2 separate regions of the Homo sapiens genome follow, and region 2 is linked to region 1. Evidence: promoter capture Hi-C in human tissues and cell types (Jung and others, 2019). All regions are on one chromosome and are shown on one strand. The core of a region is centred on a gene start or on the middle of the fragment in contact, and the rest is flanking DNA. Distances in the headings are between cores, read along the strand shown.

Region 1 (7,807 bases), core at 3,103-5,602:
AAAATAGACCCATTTATTTCACAGAGAGTGATAAAGGTACGGTCCATTTTAACAGACTGCATCATTTAAAAAAATGTTTGCCTACATGGGCTTCCACAGAATAACTTGACAAAATAGAAAAACAAATTATTTTACCGGGTAACTAAAATAAAAGCTTTTTTAAGATAGCTGGAAGAGAGGGAGAAGAAGCTAAGAAAAAGAAGCAGGTGCAATCTAGCATGAGACTAATACTCCTACATGTAATTAACTGTAAGGTTTTCTTTTTTATTAGTATTGATAATCAAATTTATAGGGAAAAAGTCCTGACATTTGTGTCCCCATTTTAAAGCACAAGATTTAAAAGAAGAAACTTCCTTTTATAAATCTGACCCTCTTACAGAGCTATCTACATGCTCTGTAAGAAGCTTGAATATAAAAAATTTCTAATGTATTGCATATACTTTACATATAAAAGCATGCTTAAGATATCTTAAGTGTCCCTTATTCCTCCAAGAAATTCCTCAAAATCTACCTCACACAGAGACCGGTCCCATGATACACAGTTCAGGTAACAATTCTACATTCTCCAAAACTTAATGTCTGCCTTTCTTCTGACAGCAAAGCAGTGAAAAACCAATGAAGAAAAAACAGAATTTCTTATACTCATCATTGTATGTTTATATAATTTCTTTTATATGTAAAGTATATGCAATACATTTGAAATTTTTTATATTCAAGCTTCAAGTGAACTACGGACATAACATTTATTGGACACTTCAAGTATATGATCTCTAATATTCACAGCTATCCTGCAAATATCATCCCCATTTTACAAATGAGGAAACTGAAGATCATAAAACTTGAGTCCAAGGTCCACATATAATAAGTCACAGTCACAAAAGTAGGGTTTACACAAGGATCTGAGCCCATTTCTTTCCATTTCACCTTGTTAGAATATGCTTAGTTTAGAATATTTCCTGTAAGGCAGGGATTTTCATCATGGCTATGATTTCTTCAGAACGTAGTATGTTGTAATACAAACACAAAGCCAAATAATGAATCTGGGTAACATTTAAATTGTCAAAAAAACTAATCTTCTACTAATTCTTTGCAGATCTTAATTAAGTTGTCAACTTCTCCGTGCCAAAACTTCTCCACATATAAAACATAGAGAATACCTTAAAGAGTTGTTATGAGACTGAAGTAAAATGTATAAAGCACTTAGTACAATGCGTGGTACAAAATAAACACTTCATAAATGTTGGCTATTTCAAGTGAGATTAAGAAATTACCAGATGGCCATATTTTGTATCAGGTGACTCCAGCCAGCAATAGCTGGACACCTAATCTAAAACCAGTCAATCCTGACACTGGACTGTGATTTAGTGGTAAAAGACAATAAGGGTCAATAAAATTATCTCTCTCAGAAATTTGAATTAAACAAAGACTGAGGCATTATTTGCCTAAATGACCTGGCTTTTTACCATCATCAATTTTCTACCATCAATGTTACCAATGACCTCTCTGTTGCTAAATCTAGTTTTTTAGCCCTTCATTTTATATTGTTTGGCAGCATTCAGTCTACTGAGTATTCCATTTATCTTGAAACATTCCTTTAGCTGTGCTCTAATCTCTCCAGTCGCACCTTCTCAGTCTCTTTGGAAGGCATTGAAATATTGCAGCTACTCAACACTTCATCCCAGGCCTCTTCTCCCTCTAGGCAATTTCATCCACACCCATGGCTTGAGTAATTATTTCTATGTCAAAATAATTATCTCTATGCCAGTTTACACTTTTCTTGTAAATTCAACTGCCTTGTCAATCTCTCTGCTTATCTGGATGTCCTAAAGATACCTCAATCTCCACTTATCTAAAACCAAATTAATGATCTTTCCTCTCACACCTACCCAAGGCCCCTTCCAATGCTCCCTATCCCAATAATGGCACCACTAACTATCCAGTTGAACAAATTAGAAAATGAGAAGTAGTCTTCGATACTTCCTTCTCCATCATCCTCATATTTCACTAAGTCCTATTAATTTTATCTCCTAAGTATTTCTCAATTCCTTCTCTTCATCTCCACTGCTACCTTCTAAGGTCTCTCTATATGCATTCTTGTATCCTCTGTACTCTCCTCAATGTAGCTGGTGGAGAGTATATCCTATATCCACTCTTGTATCCTCTGTACTCTCCACATTGTAGCCAGAGTTATTTTTTAATTATTCTAATCATGGCATGCTCCCACTTAAAAGCCTTCAATGGCTTCCCATTATTCTTAGGATTTCTGACCCAAATTCATATCATATTCTACAAAGTACTGGAAGATCTGGCTTCAGCGTACCTCTTCTCTCTTCCCATTGCCCCACATGTACCCACACTTGTCTCCTTTCAGTTCCTCAAACACAGCATAACATGTTTCCACCTGCTTGGGTTCTTTGCACATGGTTTTCCTGCTGCCTCGACCACTCTTTGCCCTTTTTTTCAATTATCCAATCCCTATCATATGTCAGCTAAAATATCACTTCCAGACAATATCAGTAATTCAGTTATTCATTTAAGAAATCTTTATTGAGAACATACTATACACTTAGAAAAGTTCTAGACATGTGGTATTGATAAAACAATGCCCTTGTAGAGCTTACATTGTAGTGGAAGGAGACAGGAAATAAGCAATACAAGCAAGTAAATTAAATAGTATGTTCAAAGGCAATAAATGCTATGAGAAAAAAAGGAAAAGAAGAACAAGGTAAGCTCATCCAAAGCAGGGAATTTCCAATGCCTAACTTATTGCCAGGCATATAGTTAGCACTCGATATTTGTTGAGTGGATGAATGAATAAAGGAATAAGCCTGTTCAAGTTATGAGGGAGCTAAAACTATAAAATGAGTAGAGGAGCTACTCAATAAAACAGAGGTGCCATGAAAGAAAGAGAAATAATGAAGGCCTTGAGACATAATGGTTCCTCGAACTTATTTCTGAGGGTGTCATAGTTTTCAGTTCCAGTTTCTGGGGTGTGGTGTGTATGTACCATAACCACACACACACACACACACACACACACACACACACACACACACACACCAGGACCAAAGTAATTCAAGTGGATCACTCTTGTAATGATAATACCTGATCAGGACATATATACAAGGTTATGTATACCACTGCCAACACCCATCACACACATATTCCCAAAGCCACTTCTTTTCTACCCACACACCCATGCCATCCCGTAACATCCAGTTCTTCAGTGGTCAGCCTCATTTAGAGGCAAACTCCCTCCCACATACTCAAAACTGTAAAAACCTTTGCTTTCTTCTATGACCCTGTGAGAAACTTAAAGTCAGTATCTCACAAATCCCAGCCATATGCACAAGGGGTCCCCTCAGGAATAGGATCCTGGGTCTCCCTTCCTGTCAGTCTTCCTGTCCCTTAAAGGCTATCTTCTACCCACAGAAGTGTGGACATGCACTCCTTTGATTCTGAATGACCTTCAAGATCATTGAACCCACACACACTCACACTCACGCTCCAGCCTCCTTTGGTAGGCTCCTAAAGGACTGGGGCTCCGGGTATCCCCTCAAGGCCTCTTGTCTTTTTAAGGACCCATACAAGAATTATTTGCATAAATTTCTCTGTGACCAGGAGTGACCCTGAGGACACTGCACATCCCCAAACACAAATACTCTAACTCCCCCTTCCATGGCACTGTCTGATATTAAAGTAACACACCTTCCACGTATACCTCCCTCTTTAGAGTCAGAGCCTCCTACTCCCACCCCGAGCCCAAATCATGCCCCTTTAGGGATCTCTCCCATGCTCCCACAGGGCAGTGTACACCCTTTCCATGACACAGCCTAGCCCTAGGATTAGCCTTCACCACAGGTGATCCCAGGATTAAGATCCTGTCTCTTCCCTCAGGTCCCAGCCCCTTTCGGGCCCATGTTCTGTCAGAAGTGTGCACACTAACCCACACTCCCCTCCACCACCCGGACTTCGAGGTCCCTGCCCGCCATTCAGAGGGGTGCACGCCACCCTTGACCCCTGACCCTGAAGTCATAACCCACCGCGCAAATATACAGGACCGCCTCCTCAGGAGTAGGACCATGCCCGAGTCCCCTGTTGCCTGAGACCCAGGACAGCCTGGCCGCCTCAGCCTTCCCCAGATCGGCCGCCCCCACAGACCTGCCTCAGGCGCCGACTGGCTCCCCTCCGCCATTTTTGTTGTCCCTCAGTCTCCGAGCTCACGCGAAGACCGCGGGGCAGTAGGGAGCGGGTGGTGGGATCAGTGGGCTGACAGGAGCTACCTCAGGAAGACGCGGCACGACGGTTGCCTGGGCAACGGGCGGCAGGCGCGCGGGTGGCCGGCGCGCGGCTGAGGGCGGGAGGGACGCCTGGGAGGAGCGTGCGTCCAAGGCCCCGCCCCCGCGGCGCGAGCCCGGGCCTGAGCTGGGACTTGGGCCCCGGGGCGCTGCTCCTCCGCAACCGATCCACCGCATCCTGGCAACTGAGCAGGCTCCGCCACCCCTAGAGCACAGGGGCCAGGTCTGTAGGGATGGCGCTTTCCTGACGGCGACCGGGGTCCTCGTACTGACCGCCCAGACTAGCTAAACTGGCTTTTCTGTGGTTGGTGCTCAACTTTGGGGACTTGGGACAGGTTTCTTGATTTCCCAAAGCTTCTCCCCTTGGTTTGCCTGGGTTACTCGTCTTCAACTGAAATGCACTGAAAACCAACTGTGTGCCCACCCCAACCCAAACACACAGAGGCCCAAAGGGTTCTGGCTCCTTGCCCCTCTGCGACAGCAACCCTCAACCCCAGAAAAGACTTATCCTTTTGCTGACGTATTTTTCAGTAAATATGGGCTGCTGTTTCCCACCTTTCAGTAGTGACACGCCGTTATCGTCTAAAACCAAGCTGGAACATTACCCGTCCTGACCAGCTCTGCCCTCCCGCAGTCCCCTGTATATTCCCTCTATTCCAAATGCTTTATGCATTATTTCCTTCTCGACCATGAGCTCTCTGATACCTACGGTTGTTCTCTTATCTTTGTATACTCCATAGTGCAGCGTGGTGCATGACACAAAGTAGGATCTCAGTCAATGTCTGCTGAATGGAAAATGGTGGTAATCTGAAAGGAAATGAGGTGGAGAGAGTGAAAGAGGGAAGGGGGAAAAACGCTAAGAAAAATGTGTTATTGAGCTGATTGCTTTAGTAGACAACTATTTTTAATCTTGCTTCAGACTCTGAAAAACAGGGTAGAATGTGTGCCTGCCGTTGTCCCACTGAAGAACACAGAGTCTGGGGCATTTGTCTCCTAATTTCTGTCTCCATTGGTTGAGGGTTGCTCTCCACCTTCCAGCTTGAACTCTCTCACATTTCCTGGTTATGCTTGCCAGGGCTGAGCAGACTTCTAGAGTTTGAGAGAAAGCCTTGAGGCAGAAATGCAGAGACGGACCGGAAGGCCTTCTAAGTAAGATGCTGGCCACATGCATGGAACTGTCCATTCATCTGCATTAAAATCAGGGATAAGAATCTTGTACAGAAAGTTACATGAAAATAGCTATCAGAATTATCTCTCACATTTGAACAGTTTAAAATTCACAAGCCATGTCCACACAACTATCAAGATGAATATATATGTGCTTTCCACAGTCCTAATGACACTTATGTAAAGGCTGTGAGGGTTTTGGGAATTTCGGTGTCGGAGGAGTCAATAAGGGCTAAGAAGAACAAAAGAACTACATTAAGTATAGGGAGATGGAAAAATAAAGAGAAAGATGTGGGTTCTACTCAGACTGATGTTATAGCTTTATAATCTTGGGCAAATCACTTAAACTTACTGAGCCTCAGTTTCCTCTTCCAACAAACTGAGACAAAGGTCCTGCCTACCACAAAGAGTAGCTCTAAGACACAAATAGGGTGATGAATGAAAATGCATTTGATGAGTATGAGCCAGGCTCTGTGCAGATGCTGAGGATAAAGAGACAAATATAACATTATTAAATTGAACCACATTGGTCAATTTAAATTTTAAGTAAAATTTAGAACTCAGTTATTTAATCAGAATTGCCACTTTTCAAGTGCTCAATAGCTACATGTGGCTACTGGCTACCATATTGGACAACATATGTATAGAACATTTCCATCACTGCAGAAAGTTTTGTTAGTCAGAATTGATAGACAAATGCCTTACTGGGCAGAGGAGACGAAAAGCCTGGAAAACCAGCTTGCTGACAGGACCAGGTTCGGTTCTCCTCTGTGTCAGCTATTCCTCAGGAAGCAGTGCAGGAGGGAGTATAGACTTCTTCACTACTGCTGGAGTCTTCAGAGACTTCCCTTTTGTTGTGTGAAAAATAACACAGCATGGGAAGTGGGGGGAAAACGTCCCCTACATGGGCTCCTGGGAATTAGTTTCCCCGTGCTACCATTCATATGTCCCTGGGAGGTCTGTCTTCCCCAGAGACCTCCTATGATTTCTGTCTCCACAGAAAACACCCACCCACAACAAGGGTGCCTTCTTTCAAGCAAAATATACCCTGTAGGATTCACCCACTCCCTCCATAAACATTCATTAAAATGATACCTTCCATGTGCCTGGCCACTAAGTTAGATGCAGAATGGAATGAGAGAAATATTTAATTTATAATCATATTTTTACGAGCACAAACTCATTTCATTCTCAGAGCAGCATTATGATATTTGTATTAATATCAGCCTCTTGTACAGAAGATGAAATTGAGGCTCACAGAGTTTAAGTGACTTATACAAAGTTTCAGGCAGAAAGTAGCAGACTCAGGGAAGACTGAAATTATGCTAGGAAATTCATCTGTGTTATCTCATGTAATTTTCACATCAAAAATACCATGCCTTTGAAGTTTACAAACTAATTGGAAAGAAAGGATTAACATGCACAAATTCAGTTTACAATTAATTTCCAAACAATGTGGTAAGAGCAATGACACAGGCATGCTCAGCAAAGTGGAGGAGCACTAAAGAGAGATCCCCTTGATGGGCATCTATAGCCACAGCCCACCAGAAGTATTCAAAATAGCCAATCCTAAATGTTTACTCTGCTCTACCTTGCGATTCTCACAGAAATCCCAATAAAGGCTTTGGCCTAGGATTTCCCCTTGCTCCTGTGTTCTGACACCAAACCAAAACCTGGTGTTTCCCCTGTGACCCTTCATGGCATAAACTTCTTTCCAAGCCTTGTTCTCATTTACTCCTGTGGCCACACCCACTTAATCATACCATATCCAACATTTATATTCTTAGGACATACTTGTTATTCTGCTCTTTAATAAACAGGCTATTGTTGTTTACTCTTTCCATGTAAAATTTTAAATCAGCTTGCCTAATTGCAAAAAAAAAAAAAAGAAAAAAAGAAAAAAGTAATAATGTTGCTGGTATTTTATTAGAATTGTGATAAATTTATAGATTAATTTAGGGAGAAATGACATCTTTATGATACTGAGTCCTTTTATCCAAGTACATGATATATCTTATAATCTGTTTAAGTCTTCTATGTCCTTCAGAAATATTTAACAAATAGTTTTTTTTTTTTTTTTGGAGACATAGTTTCTGTCACTGAGGCTGGAGTGCAGTGGCGCAATCTTGGCTCACTGCAACCTCTGCTTCACCGGTTCAAGTGATTCTCCTGCCTCAGCCTCCTGAGTAGCTGGGACTACAAGCACAGACCACCATGCCACCATGTATTTTGTTTTAGTAGAATCTGGATTTTACCATGTTGGCCAGCTAGTCTCAAACTTCTGACCTCAAGTGATTCGGCCTTCCAAAGTGCTGGGATATGTGTGAGCCACCACACCTGGC
Region 2 (7,807 bases), core at 1,807-4,306, 240 kb before region 1:
ACAGGTGCCAAGACCATTTGATAGAGAAAACAAGTCTCTTCAATGAACTATACTGAAAAACTGGATATCTACTCACAAAATTATGCAGTTGGAACCCTTCCTCAAACCACAAATGATGGAGTTAGACCCCTTTCTCAAACCACACACTAAAATGAACTCAAAACAGATCAAACATCTAAATGTAAGAGCTAAAACTAATAAGAAAACATAGGTGCAAGTCTTCATGATCTCGGATCAGGCAATAATTTTTCAATGTCACACCAATAGCACAAGTAACAAAATTTAAAAACGATAAATTTGACTTCATCCAAATTCTGTGCAACAAGTGATACTATGAAGAAAATGAAAACACAAGCCACAGAATAGGAAAATAATTTTAAAGACTTATATCCAGCACATATAAAGAACTCTTACAGTTAATAATAAAAAGATAAATGACCCAATAAAAAATAAAAAATATATACAAATGGAAAACAAATACATTAAAAGATATTCAACACAATTAGTGATTAATGAAATGCAAATCAAAACCACAATGAGATACTTCTTCACACCCAATAGGATAACCACAAATCCTTGCTCTGCCAAGCAAATAATAGCATTATAACCTCAGTTTACTTACTCATAAAACAAAGATAATTAAACCTAACATGCAGAGTAATTTATAGGTTTTGAAAAATATCTGTAAAGTATTCATCTGAAAGCAAAGTGGCAACTTAATAAACCAAAGCATTTATATTTTTTACTTTTTATAGGTGACTCTAAAAGACTAGAATTTATAGAAGTAGATAGTAGAATGGTGGCTACCAGTAGCTGGGGATGAGTGGGAAGGTGAGAGATAGACAGAACCTGACCAAAGAGTACAAAGCTTCTATCTGACCAAAGAGAAATAAGTTTCAATATCTATCCCACAGCAAGGTGACATTAGAAATGATAATGTATGTTACAAAATTACTAAAAGAATGTATGTTAAAATGTTCTCTCTACAAAAAAATGACAAATATGTGAGGTGATGGATATGTTAATTAGTTTGACATAATCATTCCACAATGTATATACATATATCTAAGTGTTTTACCCCATAAGTATATATTACTATTTGACAATTACAAATAAAAATTTTAATTTAGAAATTTTTTAAATCATTTATTACTATTGTTACAATTAGAAATTTGCTGAATACCACTAATACCACTCCACAACTATGGTATTAATATCCTATTTCAGGGTGGCAATGATAACAATGATGTTCTGAAAACATATACAATGGGATTTTTAATCTTATTGCAAATTCTGTGGCCCAAATTGAATTTCAACTAACAACTGTTGAAAACTATTTCCAATGGTTTTCCTTTTAATCCCATATGCCACCTACTCACAAAATTTAGCCCTCTCTGTATCTTCCCAATAGGAAGAACAACAACAACCTAGGCTAGAAAAAAGTGTTACAAAAATGAGCGTTGTCATTACATACCTCTCAGAATCACCAAAAATCAATATGCACAATTTCAGAGTACATGAGAAATCCCAGGAAAAAAAAAATATATATATATATATATATATATTTCCTGAGGCTAGACCCACCTACGTTATGGGAAAAGGTATCAGGAAGAAAAAAGGACTGTCTTCTCATTAGCGTCAGTGACATTGTCAAATATGAAAGCAGAACATTACCTAAACCGTTATCCATCCCATTGATGCTTTTACAAAATATTCCAGAAAACAAAGGGAAATGTTTTCTGGATTACAAGAATAGCAAAATACAAATAAATACATGAAAAAATAAATACCCCAAATTCCATGATGCAGAGAGAATCCTCGCTACCATCTGAAGCTAACCTTTTCATATCTTTTTCTACAAATACTCATATTTTACATGGCTGAGATCAAACTATGTATATAGTGTCACAGCATTTTTCTACTTAACATTTTATCTTACGGTTATGAGCTATCTATTGCTGCATAATACAATTATCTCACAATTTAGCACCTTAAAGTAAGAAATATTTATTATCCCACAGTTTCTATGGGTCTCTGGGACAAACACTTTTCTACCTTGAATTTCTGCTGAGTAACAATATCTCTGAGCTTCTTAACAAGCTTCCATTGTTTCATTGAGAACACTTATTTTAAAGGTTAAGTATACCTTTAAAATATTTAGATGATTTTTATTCAACTTAGTACTCTGAAGCACCACCTTTCATCTTTCTGAGGTCTCAACCAGGGATTTTACAATCACATCCTCAGTTTCATCTCCAGACAAAGTTTTTCTAGAGTGCCCTGAATTGTATCTTTACCTAAGATGATAAATTTTAGAAACATTTGTCATCTATAAATACTGGACATTTTTTAAACCATAAAGCCCTGGATCCTTTATATTTAACAGTGCTTGCTTTAGTTTATCTCCCTTTTCTCAAATTTTACTATAGGTATCAAGAAAAAAAACAGGCAGTGTTTCCAACATTCTGCTTAGAAATTTCCTCAGCTACATCACTCAGTTCACTCAGTGCACTTTCTACTTTCTACATTACTGCAGTGGCAGTGTTGGTAAATTTTCCATCACTACATAACAAGAACCCTCTTTCATCAAGTTTCCAACAAGGTTTTTCTCATTTTCCTTTATGCCTTCACCTAAAGCCTTCTCAAAGGTAGTTTTGTTTCTATAGTTCCTTCAATACTGTACAAGATTCCACTGACACGCTCCCTAAGTCCCCCCTGTAACAGTGAAACAGGGGATGAAGCCCAGCCTGCATATAGCGACATTTTAAACATTTCGCTAACACCCTTGGAAACCAGCTGAGAAAAGAGAAGGGCGGACATATCACGTGATAAACTACAACTCAATCTAGACGCACCCTAACAAAGATTGGCCGGGCGCAGTGGCTCACGCCTATAATCCCAGCACTTTGGGAGGCGGAGGCAGGTGGATCACGAGGTCAGGAAATCAAGACCATCCTGGCTAACACGGTAAAACCCCGTCTCCACTAAAAATACAGAAAAATTAGCCGGGCGTGGTGGCGGACGCCTGTAGTCCCAGCTACTAGGGAGGCTGAGGCAGGAGAATGGCGTGAACCTGGGAGGCGGAGCTTGCAGCGAGCCGAGATCAAGCCACTGCACTCCAGCCTGGGCGACAGAGCGAGACTCTGTCTCAAAAAAAAAAAAAAAAAATTGAAACCAACCCCAGACAAAAACGTGAGGAAAGACAGAGTTTGTAGGTTGAGTACTATGTCGGGAGTTTCCAAGATCACTCTCAGGTTTGATAGGTCACTAGAAAGACTCAGAGGACTCAGAATAAGTTATGCTCAATTACAGTTTGTTACAGTGAAAGGACACAAAGCAAAGTCAGCAAAGGGGAAAACCACACGGGGTGAAGTCTGGAGAAAACCAGGCAGGAGCTTCTAAAAGCACTTTCCCAGTGAAGTCACACAGGACACACCTAATTCCTCCAACAATGAACTGTGACAACACATGAGAATTGTTGCCTACCAGCTCGCCTGCACATAGAAACCCAGGGGCCTTTTTTGCGGGGAAGGGGGTGTCAGTCACTGAACTTCCAAACCCCCAGAAAAAAAAAAGCAGATGTCCACCATAAATTATATTTTTTACATAAACTATCTAAACAAGCAAGTACAATATTTCCAAAAACCAAGCATGCAGAACATTCCTATCAGGACATTCAAGGAGCCAGGCAAAGGCCGGTCACACAAAAAGGATCTTCTTGAGAATATGCAAAGTTCTAAGAGCATTCTGGGAGCTAGGCAAAGGTCAGTCACACACAAAGGACTTTTCTTGGGGATATGCAAACTTTGAGAAACTCATAAATGCTGAGTTAATTCTTTTCTGCACAAGCCCCAAGTTACAGACACTTGGAAAACCGCTTAGACATTCCACAGATCTGCCTTTACAAAGCACATAACTAAGTCTATATAATGTCAAGGTGATCAGCCAAAAACTGAACTGCACACTAGAACAAAAACAGAGGATAAAAAAAGAACCAAGAATTTCTACAAAAAACATCTACAATGTCCAATTTATAACAAAATATTTCTAGATATACAAAGAAAAATGAAAAGAAAAAAACTCCATCAATACAGATGGACACCGAGATGGCCCAGATTTGGGCTTTTGGAAACAAAGAGCATATTATAAATATCTTCAAATAACTAAAAAAATTTCAAAGAATAAAAGAATGAACAAATAGAGAATCTTATACAGAAAACTCAAATCTATAAAAAGAAACAAATGGAAATTATAGACCTAAAACTTACAATGATGGAAATTTAAAAATTCATGAAATGGGCTGAAAAACAGATTAGAAACATCAGAATAAAAAGAAACTATTACAAAATATCTGCTCTGAATAACACAGAGAAATTAAGTTGAAGAAAAGTTAACAAAGCTTCGTGGACGCATGGGAAAATAACAAGCATGTAATAAGAGTTCCAAACAAAAAAGAGACAATGTGGTAAAAAGAATATTTTACGAAATAATGCCTGATTGCCCTAGCCAGAACTTCCAATAATATGTTGAATAAGAGTGGTGAGAGAGGGCATCCTTGTCTTGTGCTGGTTTTCAAAGAGAATGCTTCCGGCATTTGCCCATTCAGTATGATATTGGCTGTGGGTCTGTCATAAATAGCCCTTATTATTTTGAGATACATTCCATCAATACCTAGTTTATTGAGAGTTTTGAGCATGAAGCGGTGTTGAATTTTATCAAAGGCCTTTTCTGCATCTATTGAGATACTCTGTGGTTTTTGTCATTGGTTCTGTTTATGTGATGGATTACATTTATTGATTTGAGTATGTTGAACCAGCCTTGCATCCCAGGGATGAAGCTGACTTGATCGTGCTGGATAAGCTTTTTAATGTGCTGCTGGATTCGATGTGCCAGTATTTTATTGAGGATTTTTGCATCAATGTTCATCAGGGATATTGGACTGAAGTTTTCTTTTTTTGTTGTGTCTCTGCCAGGTTATGGTATAAAAATGATGCTGGAAACAAATGAAGTGTATTCAAATAGGAAGAGAGGAAGTCAAATTGTCTCTGTTTGCAGATGACATGATTGTATGTTTAGAAAACCCCATCATCTCAGCCCAAAAAGTCCTTAAGCTGATAAGCAACTTCAGCAAAGTCTCAAGATACAAAATTGATGTGCAAAAATCACAAGCATTCCTATACACCAATAATAGATAAACAGAGAGCCAATTCATGAGTGAACTCCCATTCATGATTGCTACAAAGATAATAAAATACCTAGGAATACAACTTACAAGGGATGTGAAGGACCTCTTCAAGGAGAACTACAAACCACTGCTCAAGGAAATAAGAGAGGACACAAATGAGAAAACATTCCACGCTCATGGATAGGAACAATCAGTATCATGAAAATGGCCATACAGAACAAAGTAATTTATAGATTCAATGCTATCCTCTTCAGGCTACCATTGACTTTCTTCACAGAATTAGAAAATACTACTTTACATGTCATAAGGAACCAAAAAAGAGCCCGTATAGCCAAGACAATCCTAAGCAAAAAGAACAAAGCTGGAGGCATCATGCTACCTGACTTCAAACTATACTACAAGGCTACAGTAACCAAACAGCATGGTACTGGTACCAAAAACAGATATATAGACCAATGGAACAGAAGAGAGGCTTGAGAAATAACGCCACACATCTACAACCATCTGATCTTTGACAAACCTGACAAAAAAAGCAATGGGGAAAGGATTCCCTATTTAAGGCCAGGCACGGTGGCTCACGCCTGTAATCCCAGCACTTTGGGAGGCCAAGGCGGGTGGATCACAAGGTCAAGAGTTCAAGACCAGCCTGCCCTCACCCCCTACTAAAAATACAAAAATTAGCCAGGAGTGATGGTGCGAGCCTGTAGTGTCAACTACTCGGGAGGCTGAGGCAGAAGAATCGCTTGAACCCAGGAGGTGGAGGTTGCAGTGAGCTGAGATCGCATGACTGCATTCCAGCCTGGGTGACAGAGTGAGATTCTATCTCAAAAAAAAAAAAAAAAAAAGAAGCTCAGTAAACCCCAAGCAAGGCAAGATAAATACCAAAAACAAGTTCAATCTATGCAGATCATACTTGAAGTACTTAAAACCAAAGATAAAGGTAAAAATCTTAAAAGCACAGGGAAAACAGATATACTGCCTGCAAAGGGGATGAGTGATAATAAATAACAGTTGAATTAAAAAAATTATCAATTGAGTTTATACAGCAATTGAATAATGCTAGTAGTGTTAAAAGAAAAATTAAACAAAAAATCATTTCAATCCAGAATTCTATATCAAGTGAAAATATCCTTTAAAACAAGAGTGAAATGAAGACAATTTTATATAAGCAAAAACAGAGGGGATTCAGTGCCAGAAGATGCATATCTGCACAATAAGAAATGTGTAAGATGTTTTCCAGGTTGATAGAAACTCAAATCTAAAGGAAAGCCAGGTGAAAACCTGTATCTACAAGAAAGAGTAACAACAGAAATGGCAGATAATCGACTATATTTTAAAGATGTTTTTAATGTGTAATTGTCTTAATAGCCAATTGACTGATAGAAGCTAAAATATTGACATTGTAGTGAGCTTTATAATGTACAAAATATAAAACATATAATAACAATATCCAAAGAATGGGGCAGGACAGGAAAATGGAATTAGACTGTTATAAGGTTTTTACAGTTTTGAAGTATGAAATGGGAAGTGTGAAGTATGAAGTATCAAGTGTGAAATAGGAAGTAGAAAGTGTGATATAAGAAGTGTGAAATGTAAAGTGATATAATATTGGCTCTAGACTTTCATAAGTGAAGCATGCATATTGTTAGCCCTAGAGCAACTGCGATAAATGAATGAATGAATGTATGGATAGATTAGTATATTAATATAAATAGAGGTATAGCTAAGAAGCCAATATAGAAAATAAAATGGAATACTAAATATATGCATATCCATGTCTACATGGATATATGTATGTTATATACATATATATGTTAGACACCTACTGTAAAATTTTCTGCCTTAGTGTAGTTCAATTCTAATAGCCCATTACAATTTCTACCAAAATTTCCACCTTCCATATAGTATTGTCTTCCCCAAAATCAGGTCATTTCAGTTTCCTGCCTATATCTCTTCAATGGTTTCCCAATACACATCAAATGAACCACAAACCCTTTACTATGGTCTATGAGACACTACATAATCTAATCCTTGTCTATCTTTATAGTTTCATCTTTTGCCACTCCCTCACCTAATGAACCTCTTTTCAGTTCCTAAAACAAACATATCCTACATCAAGACCATTCTCTGTGCTGTCTCCATCCCTGCCTTCTCACAGATCCCTACTATCTTTTAGGTCTCAGTTTAAAGCTTATCTCATGATAGAAGACTCTCTTAACTAACCTAAAAGTTTCTTTGATATCTTTATTACTAAATTCTTTCCCTCTTTCATAACATTTCTCACAACATGAAATTATATGTGTGTTCATTAATTTCATATTGCATTTCTGCCACCAGATATTAGCTCTTTAAGGGTAGGAACCACATTTTTTTCACTTATGTACACCCTACGCCTAGCATTATGTCTGAAATATAGAATGTACTCAATAAATTTGTATTAAATAAATGACATATGTAAATACCTACAACATAAAATTACCCCAGTAAATTTTCTATTTATAAAATTACTACAAGAAATGCTGACAAAATTTGCATGCCCAGCAGCATCACGGACATATTCTCCTGGGTAACTTTCATCACTTGTCTTCCTTTTTATAATATGGTGGTATTACATCACAAAGT

Evidence for each region. The method cuts DNA at HindIII sites, captures the fragments that hold promoters and counts their contacts. A contact is called where the count stands out against the background at its distance.
Region 2: a fragment that was not itself captured here is called in contact with the fragment with the promoter of AGBL4 in region 1 in 2 of the 25 tissues and cell types used here (mesendoderm cells and thymus).

Annotation. Positions count from the first base shown.
Region 1 is chr1:50,019,602-50,027,408 of GRCh38, forward strand. It overlaps AGBL4 (AGBL carboxypeptidase 4), which reads right to left and starts at 4,353. Exons shown (of 14, transcript NM_032785.4): 1 at 4,162-4,353. The coding sequence starts at 4,195. It overlaps LOC105378708 (a long non-coding RNA gene), which reads left to right and starts at 4,420. Exons shown (of 3, transcript XR_947311.3): 1 at 4,420-4,521. The HindIII fragment of the contact is 7,609 bases long and covers 561-7,807 here.
Region 2 is chr1:49,784,353-49,792,159 of GRCh38, forward strand. The region is part of intron 2 of AGBL4 (AGBL carboxypeptidase 4); the gene reads right to left. Among named protein-coding and RNA genes, the nearest start is that of AGBL4, 240 kb to the right of the region's middle. The HindIII fragment of the contact is 3,145 bases long and covers 1,485-4,629 here.